Regions from separate parts of the Homo sapiens genome. Here region 2 is linked to region 1. The links are contacts of gene promoters, found by promoter capture Hi-C in human tissues and cell types (Jung and others, 2019). All regions are on one chromosome and are shown on one strand. The core of a region is centred on a gene start or on the middle of the fragment in contact, and the rest is flanking DNA. Distances in the headings are between cores, read along the strand shown.

Region 1 (7,166 bases), core at 918-3,417:
TGCATGATGGTGGGGTGACAAAAGACTCTGGAAAGTTTGGGAAGTCCTGGGGTCCTCATCATGGGACTGATATGTGCCATTTCCTGCCTCTCAAGCTCTTCCCAGTTACGGGGGCGGCTCTCTAACCACAGGACAGGCACTACTGTCCCCATTAGAAAAATGGGAAGCAAGAGAGAGGGAGAAACTGAGGCACCATGTAAGTTGAGTGCTGTGTTCAAGGTCACCAGGAAGCTTGGGCAGTCTTTCCTATCTGCTCCTGGTGCTGCGGCTCTGCCTCCCCAGCTCTGTCCCTGTCCCCCCTGCCCCTCCAGCCCCCACCAGCAACTTGGGTTTCCAATCTTGCCTCCAGCTGCACTGGGCCTTGGTTATTTATAGAGTGTCAGATGCCCAGGGTTGTCTGTGCTAGCAGCTGCAGGTCAGCTCCCTCCCAAGTGCCAGGACTGGTGGAGAACCAAAACTGGAGGCTGGAGGTCACAGAAGCCCAACCCCTGGGGGGCTGGGAACATGAGCAGTCGACACAAACAGCTATGTCATCTCTGATGTTCAGACCATGCTTTATGCTAATCTAACCATAGGTTCATCTTAAAACAATCCTGGGTGGAAGGAAGATGGGGAAACTGAGGCAGAGAATGGGGAAACTACCACCACACCAAAGCCATATGGCCATTCTCCTACCTTAAGCTGGGGGTTGGGAATGGCAGGAAGTGAAGTCTGGTTGGGGTTGTGGGGTGGGCAGAGAAATCTCAGGGTAAATGACCTGCCAAGGTAGCTGCTTTGGCATTTGTGGCCCTGTCCCTCTGCCCTGTGGCCTGGCATGGTCTCCAGGCTGACAGCTTAATGAGGGTAAATGAGGAGCCATTAGAACCTGAGCTGGGGCCCCAGGGCACAGCAGGGCTGCTGAAGCCAGAGGTCAAGGCCAGGGAATTTCTAATGGCCCCTTAGGGTTGTAACTCAAGTGGGGTCTCATCTCTGGATCCCTCTCCCTCCTCCTGCAGGCTAGTACCTCACATCCACATCCCCCCATCCCCAAACGGCTGCAGTCTCCTCTCCAATTTCAGCTGGAGGATTAATTGAGGTAGATGGTAAATTCTTATACCTTCCACCCCCACAATGACTCATTGCTTGATCACTGTACATTCTAAAAGCTGGAACCAAACAGAATTACAGGGCTAAGTCCTCTGGGGGAAGTGGTAGGTGGTTTTGATTTATCCACTGTCTTGGATTACTTGTGTAAGTTTACCCTAGCCCTGGTTACTGAGATGAAACCATTTCTCTCCTGGCGCTGGGGACATAAGGGGATAAGGTGCCCCAATCCTCTTATTCCCATACCCGGGGGGCCCCTTCCCAGAGCCCTAACTCCTCCCATTGTCCCCCAAGTCCACACTCACATCAGTGGCCTTCTTCTCGGCCTGCTCCAGTTTCTCCTGGGCCTCCTTCACGGATTCAGAATACTTTTCCACCTCATCCTCTGTCCCCTTCAGCTTCTTCTGGAGGGCCTGCTGCTCCTCCTCCAGCTGGGACAGAGGGGACTTGGTCAGCCAGGCTGGGAGGGGGCCCAGGCCCAGAATGGAGACGCGGTGTGTGTAGGGGCGCTACTAAGATTTGGAGGCTACTGGGATGGAAGCGGAATAACATAAAAGGGACAGTACAGTCAAGGGTACTGGTGGGACCCGTTGAGGGTACAGAGAAAACTTCAGGCCCCAAGGAGCAGGACCAACCGCGCTCTGCAAAGGCAGAGTGGAAACCAGGGGCCTGGGGCTTCCCCAGGCTATTGTAGGGGAGAGAAGCGGCTCTGGCGAAGGCCCTGAGGGTACTGCGAAGGCCCAGCCCCCACCCTGGGTGAGAGAGAGCCTTGGCGGGCAGGCCCGGGGCTGGGGGACCCATGGCAGCGGCCCACCCTTGCCCTAGGCGCGGGGAGAGCAGGCTGCACTGGGCCCGGCCCTAACCTGCTTGCAGCGGTCCTCAGCTTGCTTCTTGTCGGCTTCGGCCTGCTCGGCGCGGTCGATGGCGTTCTCCTTGTCCAGCTTCAGCATCTGCATCTTCTTCTTGATGGCGTCCATGGCTGCGGTGGGGGGTGGGCCGGCCGGCAGGCGGTGAGGACCGGACGGACTGGGCTGGGTGAGCGGACTGGGTGCACCGGTGGCAGGCGAGGAGGACGGAGCGGGACTGGGACGTCCCGGCCACGCGGGCGCCTAAAAGGCGGGGAGGGACCGGGCGGGGCCGGCAACCAGGACCCTCCCCCACCTCGGCCCAAACCTTGTAGGGGCAGAAGCACGGCCCGGCCGGGGGGTGCGGCCGCCCCCTTCGCCCACCCACTGGGGACCGCCTCCCTTGGGGTCCCGCCCCCATCCCCCTCTTCCCTGCCAGCCGTCGGAGGAAAAAGTGGCCGACGGTCGGCTGGAAAAACCCCGGCGATGCGAAGGGGAGGGGACCCTTGGGCTGGGGGCTCCGTGCTTCCTCTGAGTGACAGCCGGACCCAGTGGCAGCTGCGGCTGGGGCCCCTGGGGCTATTTCGGGGCGTGAGCTCACGGCAGCTGCCCGGGCGCAGGGACCGGCGTGCCCCCCCTCAGCTGCAGCAGCCGCTACCCTTAATTTAGAAGTTTCCTGCAAATCCCCCCGGATTAAATGTCTCTCGGGAGGCGGAGCTCCTCGGCAGTTTGAGTGCCTCAGTTTACCCTGAGTCCCTCTAGGTTTGCGTTATCGACGTGGTGGTAGTAGCGGAGTCTCATCGGGAGCTTGGGGAAACTGAAGCAGGAAGCGAGCCCAGAGCCCCGGTCGCGGTGGGGAGTGTGGCCGGGCTTGCTGCCCCCAGGACCGGCCTGACCTCTCATCCCCTCGCCTCCCCTCCCAGCCCCTGCCCCTGGAGCCAGGCCCTTCCTGCGAGCACCCGGCGGCTCAGGACCCAGCTCCCCGCCCCGCCCCCCACGTGCCCCGCATATTTTCCACGCGGCTGCGGCCAGGCTGGTCACCGCGCGTTCCCCGCCCCCGCTCCCACCCGGACGCGTCCCGAGCCCCTCCGCTCCCCGCCCCTGGCTCCGCCTGGCCCCACTCCCCTCCGCGCGCCTTCCCTCTTCTCCCCCGCTCCCCGCGGACGCTCCTCTCTTTCCCAGTGGGCCAACTTTATGCTGAAATTTCTTTTCTGCCCTTTTTTGGGATGTTTCCCCATTGGGAGGCGGAGCCGGGCTGCGGCGGGGAAGGCGGAGGGCGAGGGGAAGAGTCACTGAGCTGCGGGGCATAGGGGGTCCGGGGCGAGGTGCCTTCTCCCACCCAGGCCGCCAAACCAGCGCCGGAGCCGGGTCGTGGGGTCTGGGAGTCGGAGGCGCGAGGCGCGAGGGTGTTTGTTTTCGTTTTTCCCTGGGGTGGGGTGGGGGGAAAGGAAGTGGAGAGCCGCCGGGAGGAGGGGGAAGGGGAGGAGAGAACAAGCGGAGGAAGCCGGGAGGGAGCTGCTAGCCTCGCCCCCACCCTCCAGTCATAGAGGGGCGGGAGGCCTGGATTTTGCAGTGGGCTGGGGACCGTGGGAACCCGAGGCCGCTGGCCGGGGCGGTGGGGAGGTGGCGTGGAAATGCATTCAGATCTGTTTAGCTGCCTGCTAGCCACACGGAGAGCAACCCTGGCCTGACCTCGCAGTGTTCCTCTAACTCCGTGGAAGACGCCTCATCCACCAGTAGCCTATGCTAGACCACTGGGTATCCCCTGCCCTTCGCGTCTCACAACCACCTAATCCTGGAGAGGCTGCCTTCTACCAAGGAGGTTCCTCCTCGGGTCGGTCTGGGCTGGCCTCTGGCCGCGCCTTATGTTTTCTTCAGTCTGTTTTGTAGTCTTACTTCTAGTTCCTCAACTCATTCATTCATTTGACTGTCCCATGACATTGTTGTCAAATATCTTTTTAAAAGTTAATGCGAATATTATCTAAAATTCTCCAAAACCCCTCCCTAATCCCTGTCCCCCCACCTTTTTTGAGACGGGAGCTTGCTAGATTGCCCAGGCTGGTCTTGAACTTATGGGCTTAAGTGATCCTCCCGACTCAGCCTCCTGAGTAGCTGGGATTACAGGCGTGCGGGCACCCTGCCTGTTTTGAGGAGAAAAAAAAAATCCACATTTCTTAATATGGTATAGAAGGCCCGTTGTTTTGGCTGTTGCCTGCCTCTCTGGCCTCATCTCCTTCCATGCCCAACCTCACCCCCAGTATTCATACTTGTACCTCATGCTGCATTCATAATGAGCTACGTGCAGGAGCTGGAAATAGCCATACTTTTCTTAAAGCTTCCACAGTTTATGCATTCTGTTCTCTCTCCCTAAAATGCCCATCCCCTTGGCTGATTCCTGGTGGCCTTTAAGACTCAGTAAGTGTCAGCTTTTCTGGGAAGCCTTCCCTGGCCACTTCTCTTCCCACCGCCTCACCTAATAGGTGCGTGTTCTTGGTGCGGGCTCTCACCCTCATCCTAGTCCCATGGTATAACTGTTCTTATACCGGTTTGGCGCCTCCGCCGGTCTGTGAGTCCTCAACAGAAACGACTGTTCTCAATTCTGAATCCCCAAGGCCTATCACAGCACCAGGCATAGAGTTGGCACTTCATGAACATTTGCCAGATGAGTTTTTTATGTACCAGTTTCTGGGTACTTATCAAATATACTAATACGGTGTGGGTCTTTTGGTCTTAGAACCCATTACACTCTTAAAAAGTATTGAAGACCCCCAAACAGCTTTTTTGTTGAAGTGGGTTATATCTACCAATAGTTGCCATATTAAAATGAAACTTGAGAAAAATTTTAAATATGTATCAATTCGTTAAAAATAACAAAAATAAACTCATTACACATTAATCATGTTAACATAATGTTCTAAATGAAAGATAACTATATTCCCATTCCCCGAATTAATGAGAGTATGGAAATTATTTTACATTTTTACGAATCTCTTTACTCTCTGGCTTCCAAGGGGACAGCTGTATTATCAATATCTCCTTCCATATTTGATCTGTTGCTATATGTTGGTTACTGAGACATATGAAGAAAATCCTGTCTCACAACAGATATGCAGTTGGAAAGATTTATTTATTATTTTATTTATTTATTTTGAAACAGTCTTGCTCTGTTGCCCAGGCTGGAGTGCGGTGGTGCGATCTTGGCTCACTGCAACCTCCGCTTCCCAGGTTCAAGCAATTCTCCTGTCTCAGCCTCCTGAGTAGCTGGGACTACAGGCATGCACCACCATGCCTGACTAATTTTTGTATTTTCAGTAGAGACAGGGTTTCACCATGTTGGCCAGGCTGGTCTCGAACTCCTGACCTCAAGTGATCCGCCTGCCTTGGCCTCCCAAAGTGCTGGGCTTACAGGCGTGAACCACCACGCCTGGCCTATTTATTATTATTATTATTTGTTTATTTTTTTGAGACAGAGTCTCGCGCTGTCACCCAGGCTGGAGTGCAGTGGGGCGATCTCAGCTAACTGCAACCTCCGCCTCCCAGGTTCAAGTGATTCTCCCGCCTCAGCCTCCCGAGTAGCTGGGACTACAGGCATAAGCCATCACACCCAGCTAACTGTTGTATTTTTTGTTTGTTTGTTTTGTTTTTTTGAGACGGAGTCTCGCTCTGTTGCCCAGGCTGGAGTGCAGTGGCACAATCTCGGCTCACTGCAACCTCCGCCTCCCAGGTTCACGCCATTCTCCTGCCTCAGCCTCCCAAGTAGCTGGAACTATAGGCGCCCGCCACCATGCCCAGATAACTTTTTATATTTTTAGTAGAGACGGGGTTTCACTGTGTTAGCTAGGCTGGTCTTGAACTCCTGAACTCAGATAATCTGCCTGCCTTGGCCTCCCAAAGTGCTGGGATTACAGGCGTGAGCCACCATGCCGGGCCTGGCATATTTATGTTTTTTTGAGACAAGGTCTGGCTCTGTCACCCAGGCTGTAGTGCAGAGACACAATCACGGCTTGGCTCACTGCAGCCTTGACCTTCTGGGCTCAAGTGCTCTCTCCGCCTCAGTCTCCTCCAGTAGCTGGGACTACACATGTGCACCATCATACCCGGCCCTTTTTTTTTTTTTTTTAAATAGAGATGGTGTGCCACTATGTTGCCTAGGTTGGTCTCAAACTCCTAGGCTCAAGCTACCCTCCTGCCTCAGCCTCCCAAAGTGCTGGAATTACAGGCCTGAGCCACTGTGCCTGGCCGATAATTGGCAGTTTCTTAAGGGGCAGTTGCAATGTAGAATGTGAAACCATATCAGTGACCTTTTTGTACTGTTAAACTAAAATCCGTTGTTTTGGCCAAGTGTGGTGGCTCACGCCTGTAATCCCAGCACTTTGTGACGCCAAGGTGGGTGGATCACCTGAGGTCAGGAGTTCGAGACCAGCCTGGCCAACATGGTGAAACCCTCCCGTCTCTACTAAAACTACAAAAATTAGTCAGGTGTGGTGGTGGCACACGCCTGTAATCCCAGCCACTCGGGAGGCTGAGGCAGGGGAATCACTTGAACCTGCGAGGCGAAGGTTGCAGTTAGCCGAGATTGCACCACTGCACTCCAGCTTGGGTGACAGAGCAAGACTCTGTCTCAAAAAAAAAAAAAAAATCCGTTTTTCTGAACTGCACCTGATTGGATCTTTTACCCATGCATAATTTTGTAACACCGTGCATTCGTCATATGGAAAATAATTGATTCACTGAGCTATGCAAATCTTCCAAATATTAATGTTTCATTATACATTATTTTAAAAATCACAATAGGTTTCAGGCCAGGTGCGGTGGCTCATACCTGTAATCCCAGCACTTTGGGAGGCCGAGGTGGGTGGATTGCCTGAGCTCAGGAGTTCGAGACCAGCCTGGGCAACATGGCAAAACCCTGTCTCTACTAAAAATACAAAAAGTTAGCTGGGTGTGGTGGCGGGCGCCTGTAGTCCCAGCTACTCAGGAGGCTGAGGCAGGAGAATTGCTTGAACCTGGGAGGTGGAAGTTGCAGTGAGCTGAGATTGCACCACTGCATTCCAGCCTGGGGAACAGAGCGAGACTCTGTCTCAAAAATAAATAAATAAATAAATAAATAAATTTTAAAAAAATCACAATAGGTTTCAACAGTAAAGTCTTTGTTTTTCTTCATAGTATTATACTGGAGAACAGTAAAGTCTTTAAGTTTTAAATTTTGGGAAGCTGTGAAGCTCATGTAGCAAATAC
Region 2 (6,998 bases), core at 3,881-6,380, 39 kb after region 1:
ATACTGAACTACATTCATATTCCAGAGGCAGAGAAGAGACAATGGATGATGGCAACTAAAAGGGTAGCTATGTTGGTCAAACCCTGGTACCTCGGAAGAAGAAATAGTGGGGGGCAGGCTTGGAATGGAGACAGGCCCACTGGGGTCACAATGGCAGGGAGTCCTGGGCCCTGACAGGGTATAGGATGTGGGTCACTCACTCAAGGAAGCCAGCCTTGTGCTTCTGCTCATTGTGGGGCCCAAACTGGATCTGGCATTGGAAGCCAGCAAACTCACAGGCCTTGTCAAAGGAGACAGGGTGGGAGCCATTCAGGATGTCATCTCGTGCCTGGAGAGCACAGGGCAAGGAGGCGAATGTTGTGTGTGGGTGCAAGGACACGCACACTGTGCTTCCGAGCCCTCCCTATTCCTGCCCCACCCCAGCCAAGTCCTCTGCATACCTGCACATACAGGAGGTTCAGCTGTACAGGGTCCCGGGAATCCACATTCTGGTCTGAGTAAAAGAACTTCCTCCGCAGCAGCAGCGTCTCGTGCTCCTCTACACCCTGCTCCCTCAGTGTCCGACCATGGTCCAGCCAGTTCACTGGGATACAGACAGTCCCCTCAGTGCCAAACCCCCATGGCCCCTGTGCTGTCTGGTCTCTGTTTATTTCTGCATTTCCTACCTCCCCTCACTTAAATGTAAGTCCCATGAGTGTAGGACTTTGTTTTCTCACTGATGTATCCCCAGGGTGTAAAACAGTGCCTGGCAGAAGCAGATGCTGAAGCCCCTTCCCACCCTTCCCATTTCAAAAGCCCTCTTTTTTCTAGTTCTGCTTACACTCATCATCTGTGTGCAATTTCTGCTTTAGTTTCTCCATCTTCTTTTCATCTCGCAGCAATGTCTTGTCCTTTCTTAAGGTCCCTGTTATTTCCTCCTTTTTCTCTTCCATCAGCTCTCGAACCAATGAATATTCATCATGATTGGTGATGCCTGAGGAAGGAGATGGCTTGTTAGCTTCCCAGGTACTGCATCCATGCCTTTTGAGAGAGTTGAGGCTTTCTGGCCCAGGCTTTCAACTGTACTAGGGCCCCTTACCAATGCGGGCACAGATGGTCATGAGCATGTCAGTGACAGTCTTAGAGTCATCCACCATGATCGTCTTCACAGTTCCATCCAGCATACGGATCTTCAGGGGTCTCTGTTTCTTCCTGTACTCCATAGTGTCCTGTTAGGGCAGGAAGAAGAGACAGGGGCCTACTCTGAGCTAGGGGTATTATTTCCTCTTTACACAGCCCGAGGGGAGAGAGTGGAGCACTGAAAGGAAGACTATGGTGGTTCGTTCAAAAGCAGGGAATTATGACTGTCTGTTAATAGGAAGAAAGCATGGGGAGGGCTAAGAGACAACAGATGTGGGTGCTGAAAACAGGAGGTGGAACAGGGAGAAGCTGATGGAAGGGGATGTGGTGGTCCTTGATGAAAGGATACTTACCCCATTTCGGAGCATGTAGTAGTCCAAAGCTTTCCCAGCCTCCAGCCATATACCCTTTTTGGGGTCATCATCTGACAGAAAGAGCCCAAAGTCGCTGGCTAAAAGAGAGGATGGATCACTTTAGGCTTATGAAGACCCCAATGTGGCTGAACAGCTTGTACCATGTTGCCCCTGACTATTTCTCCCATGACCTTGGGCCTAAAGAACGAGGGAACCATGGAACACAGACCTGAGGGGTGAGTAGTCTTAGGGGACAAAGGGGTCAACTCTCAAGGCCGAGAGCCTGGGAACAAGAAGGGACTGAAGACTCCCACTCCAGCCACCGGGGGAGTCAGACTCACGAGGACCAGCTGGGGCCTCTGGGATCCGCTCACGAATGATGCGGCAGGCGTCGTACACCATGGTAGACGGCTCAAACTGCATCGTCTTCACCACATTCCCAATGCTGATCTTCAGTGAAAGTGCAACCATGGTGGCAGCTTCTTTTCTCCAGCCTGGCTATACCTGACCCATGGCATCAGGGCATTAGAATACACTCTTCTGGTGGGAGAAGAGGCCCCCCAGATGGTGGAGTCCAAGGGAAGAGTGTTTTTGAAAGGGACTCACCAAAGTAGATGGTAATAAGGTTGTTTTCATTGTATTTAATAATTTTAAAGAGTGAAAAATTATTTACATCAAAAGAATGAGTCCTGACAATTTTTTTTTTTGAGACAGAGTTTCGTTCTGTTGCCCAGGCTAGAGTACAGTGGTGCGATCTCAGCTCGCTGCAAGCTCCGCCTCCTGGATTCACGCCATTCTCCTGTCTCAGCCTCCCCAGTAGCTGGGACTACAGGCGCCCGCTGCCATGCCTGGCTAATTTTTTGTATTTTTAGTAGAGACGGGGTTTCACCATGTTAGCCAGGATGGTCTCGATCTCCTGACCTCGTGATCCACCTTGGCCTCCCCAAGTGCTGGGATTACAGGCGTGAGCCACCACGCCCGGCCAAGTCCTAACAATTTAAGACATCTGAGGGAAAGGAGAAGCTGGTCTGCAAGGTACAATAGCAGGTCTGAAATGCAGTGCTACCTGAGGACACTGCCCTGCCCCACCACTGGAATTTGTACCTCCCTACTTTCATCCAAGTATCTCTCTTGCCCCTTGTCCCTGATCACCTTTCTCAGCCCTACTCCTGCCTTCTTTTCATTTTTGCCTGGTTCAGTATTTTTCTCTCTTTGTCTCCTGCTGTGTCCTGCTGGCTCTTCCCTGTCCGGGATTTTCAGAGCTCTCTTCTCACCACGTGACCTTCCTTCTCATGGCTTTAGCTGCCTTCTCTGCAAAATGAAGATGTTATAATTCCCTAAGGCTCTTGAAGCCTGCAAACAAACTCTAGCTAGCCTGGCAGGGAGACCAAATACTGGTTGCTCAAGCCATTCAGGGGTCCGCTCTTGCCCCAGCTTTTTTCTAACCTGAGATGCGGGGGCCTTCTGAAGGAGCCTAGCCCTGTACTGGGCTTCCCAGGCAGTCAAGCTAGAAATGTGATTCTCTAACTCAAAGGGATCTATCTCAGAAGTTATCTGGTCAACTCTTGTGTTTTGGAGAAGGGGAAATAGACTCTGGGAGGCCAGGAAACATTTTCAAGACAGGCCAGAGAAAGGACCCAGTCCCTGTAACTCAGTCCTTGCTTGTTCCAAGTCATCAAGTTAATACTCAGTCCTGCAACTCCTCCCATGCTTTCTCCTCTTCAGCAAGTCTGTCTCGAATTCTGCTCTGTCTCACCCACTTCCCCTGACTGTATTTTCAGTGCAGCTCAGAATACTAGTCCTACCCCACCTTCTTCCACCCTCCTGGCACCCCCTCTCAGCAGGCTAGAGGAGGCACTGGAGGCAGCAGGTGGCGCACAGGCTGCAAGAGGACAAGTCTGCCCGGCTGCTGCTGATGTGCCCCTGCTTGGTACAGGGATTGGGTGCCTCTTAACTAAGAGAATGGGCAAATACAAGCTGCCCATTCCCCTCCTGGCAAACTACAAGCCTCAAATGGGGAAAAGCAGGGTGAGAGGGGAAGGCTGGAAAGCAGAGATGGGGGTGTTAGGATACAGAAGGCATTTGAAAGCCAGGGAAGTTAAGAAGGGGTAGAGGGTAAAGAAGTTAGGAGAGATGGGATGAGGAGAATTGAAAATCTAAGTAGAAACAAGAGACAGGAGGCAGGTATGAAAATGGTCTAGATCAGCGGTCTGGTACCAAGTGGCAGATAGACCATTTCTGACCTTACAAGCAGTCCAGAGTCTCAAAAGAGAAGAACCACAGCTCTCTGTCTTTACTCCCCAATAAGAGAGGACCCTCCCAGTCTCCCCAGTTCCAGCTCTCTGCCCCCTCCCCACTCCTGGGGCACTTTGCCCAACCTTATTACTATCCGCTTGTGTCCCAGCTGGACAGACCTGGCTATGGGGTTGCTGACCATGAAAGAATGAGGGCTGGGCTGGTGGATCCGAGAAGCTGGAGGAGTCTGTGGAGCCAAGAAGCAGGACTGAAAGGACCCTTCACACTAAGCTGAAACTGCATGTCTCCCCCCATTTCCTCTGGACACTTAGACACCCCCTTCCTCCTCAAGCACGGAAGCCTCTGGTGAGACCCCGATAAGGGAGCTGAGTCATGCCTACCCTTACTCCCCAGCTGGTCCAGAGTGGATATTCACACAGCTACAAGAGGGTGTGTGGACGCGAAGAACTGATCAGTGAATTGTGGGTGGTGGTGGCAAAGAACAAGGCTGCTACAAGTATGAGTAGAAGCTAGCTCATTCCTCCTTTGGCCTGAGAACTTTGCTCCCTTTTCCATTGTGTTTGATGGAACAGCAACTCCCCACTGCCGTGTCCCCCTCCCAGGGAACTCCTCCTCCCTCAATACATTCCTGCGATGCATTCCAAAGAAGTTGGGCAATTGGAGGGGGGGAATGGAGGACAGGAGGTCAAATCCCAGCAAGGAATGGAATGTAAGAGTATTGGAGCTAAGAAAGTTGGGGTACTTGGAGAATATAGTCAGAGCAGATACCCACAAGGGGAATTGCAGAAAGATAGGGAGTTACAGACAGGAACAAAAGGAAAGAGCTTAAGACAGTCAGAATATAAGAGGGATGGGGGAGTAACACTCAGTCTGTTACCAAATTTGGCCTCTGAGTCCGCAACCGCTGGCAGTGGGGGAGGGCTGTGGGTGAGACTGACATATCCGGCCTCAGGCTGCTGGAGACTCATTTAGAGCTGGACTGGGCAGCTAGCTGAAGGGCTGCACAGAACTTCCCCCGGTACAGCCCCTCCATACTCAAATGCACACTCATTCTCCCCAGATGCACCCCAGCCTAGGCAGAGCTCTTTCCCACAAAGCTACCTTACTCTCTCTATACACACATTATCTCAATCACACAGCCCCCACACAGATCCCATCACGACTGCATTATCTTCTCCTAGGGAGCCCATCCTATGCACACAGCTTTTGCACAGATAACCTCCATAACAAGCACACCCGGCACCCAGTGTCTCTCCTCCCATTATGTAGACATTCTCCATTCACCCAGCAAGCATTCCTTGAGGGCCAGCTGTGGGGAAGACCCTGGGCCAAACTTTCAGTGGCTGGGGACCAAGATCAGTAAGACCTAGCCTTTGAGTTCAAAGGGCTCCCAGTCCACGAGATGAGTGAATAAGCCAAGTACAGAATCACAACGGAGGGCAGGATGTGGTAAGAGCCAAAAGGTGTGTGCTCAGAGAGATCCCTTTAGGTCAGGGAAGGGGAACCAAAAAGTCTCCATGATAAGTATCATTTGAAGCTAGAATTTTAAAAAATAGAGATAATAAAAAACAATAGTGATCTGCCATTTATTGACTATGTCACTTGCATTGTATACATAATTTCATTTAATCCTTACAGTAGGTGTCATTATTTCCATTTTTACAGATCAGAAAACAGACTCAAAGATGTTAAATACTTGTTCAAATACTTCTCCAAATAATAAGTTGTGAAGCCAGGATCCGAACCCAGGTTTCTGACTGCAAAGCCCAAGCTTTCTCCACTACGCCAGCCAGCTGGAGATGTGTCAGGGGTAGTTTTCACTCCAGGCAGAGAAATAGCATAAGCAAAGATGGAGAAGCAGTAAATCGTGGAGGAGCATTCAGGGAAGTGAGCAGGCAGGCTGTTGAAGCACAGGGGTACCTGCAAGGGAGCAGTGGTGGGGAAGTCAGGGTTAGGATGGAAAGGCAGAGGAAGACTGGAGAGGGGTATGAGGAATTTTACTTATTGGAGGACAAAAGGAAGCCAAGGGAGTCTTTGAGCAGAGAAGAGACATAACCGGAACTGGATTTTAGAAAAATAACTCTGGCAGTTACCTTGGAGATTAGTTAGAAGGACACTGTATTAGTACAAATTAAAGGTAATGAAGCCGGAGTTGGAATGGCATTGAGGAAGATGTCACTCAGAACAAGTTTGGGGAGGTAGAAATGACAGGACCTAATAACTACTAAGGTAGACAGGTTAGAGTCCCACAGCTTCCTATCATCAGCAGCCACTTTAGCGGCTGGGGCAGCTTGAGTTTAGGCGACGAATTGGGAAGAGGGGAAAGGATCAGGTTGGGCAGAGAATGTGAGGATGAGGCTGTGGTTACGGGATGTGGTTAGGCTGTGGGGAAAAAGGGTATGAGTATATGATTAGTAGCCACTAGGGGCAGATGGGGTTGGGTTAGTGACTGCATCAGGCTGGGAATGGGGAAGACAGGGTGTAGAAAAAGGATGAGAAGACAGGGTGTAGAAAAAGAATGCTGGTGATGATGGTGTTTGGAAAAATACATATACATAAGATACATATATGACCAGTCACTGCATCAGGTTGGGGGAAGGGGAATGATTACATGGATGGTGGCTAAGTCAGGGAATGATGGGGTGAGGTCAGAGGCCAGGTCAGGCTATAGGAGGTTGAGAAGAGCTGGGCCTGTGGTCAGTCACTAAATCAGACTGGGGTGGGGGTGGGAAAGTGAAGGGACATTGGCAATGTCTAAGTAAAGCTGGAGCTGGGATGGGGGATGGGGTACAGCCAGTGGCTGGGTCAGGCTGAGTAGAGGATAGTGCTGTGGTCAGTGGCAGGGTCAGGCTGGGAGTGAAGTGGGGGTGTGGTCAGTGGCCTGGCTGGGCGTGGGATCAGCAAGACCCAGTTTCCTCTTTGGGTCTCGTTTCCTCTTTTCTGTTGGGGAGTGGGGGAAGGGGATCTACAAATGGTCCAAGAAATTAAAAGAGGCTTAGATCCAGGGGGTGACACACAGCAGGGGATGGGAGTAGGGTATTCAGCAGATGACCAGGTGGAATGTAGGTACATGACTGGGTGAAAATGGTAGGAGAGTAATTTAAAATGATGGGAAAGCTCAGGTTTTGATGAGGGTAAATTCAGGTAGGATGTGCGGATTAAAGGTTGGTGAGGGAGGTAGAACTAAGGATGGGAACGGATGATAAGATGAGCATGGGAGAGTTAAAGGCAAGGGAAGTATTTTGTAAGGGGATAGGCAGGATGGGTGTG

The links. Contacts are between HindIII fragments. The study calls those that stand out against the background at their distance.
Region 2: a contact is called between a fragment that was not itself captured here and the fragment with the promoter of TPM2 in region 1, in 6 of the 25 tissues and cell types used here (IMR-90 fibroblasts, adrenal gland, aorta and 3 more).

The regions. Positions count from the first base shown.
Region 1 is chr9:35,687,758-35,694,923 of GRCh38, forward strand. TPM2 (tropomyosin 2) reads right to left here and starts at 2,168. Exons shown (of 9, transcript NM_003289.4): 1 at 1,947-2,168; 2 at 1,389-1,514. The coding sequence starts at 2,060. RefSeq lists an enhancer at 133-610 and a silencer at 3,506-3,585. The HindIII fragment of the contact is 5,966 bases long and covers 1-5,731 here.
Region 2 is chr9:35,723,752-35,730,749 of GRCh38, forward strand. TLN1 (talin 1) reads right to left here. Exons shown (of 57, transcript NM_006289.4): 2 at 1,814-1,976; 3 at 1,473-1,570; 4 at 1,079-1,208; 5 at 821-973; 6 at 441-583; 7 at 201-328. The coding sequence starts at 1,943. Among named protein-coding and RNA genes, the nearest start is that of TLN1, 4.9 kb to the right of the region's middle. RefSeq lists enhancers at 2,730-3,442, 3,443-4,156, 6,552-6,611 and a silencer at 3,161-3,455. The HindIII fragment of the contact is 3,260 bases long and covers 3,501-6,760 here.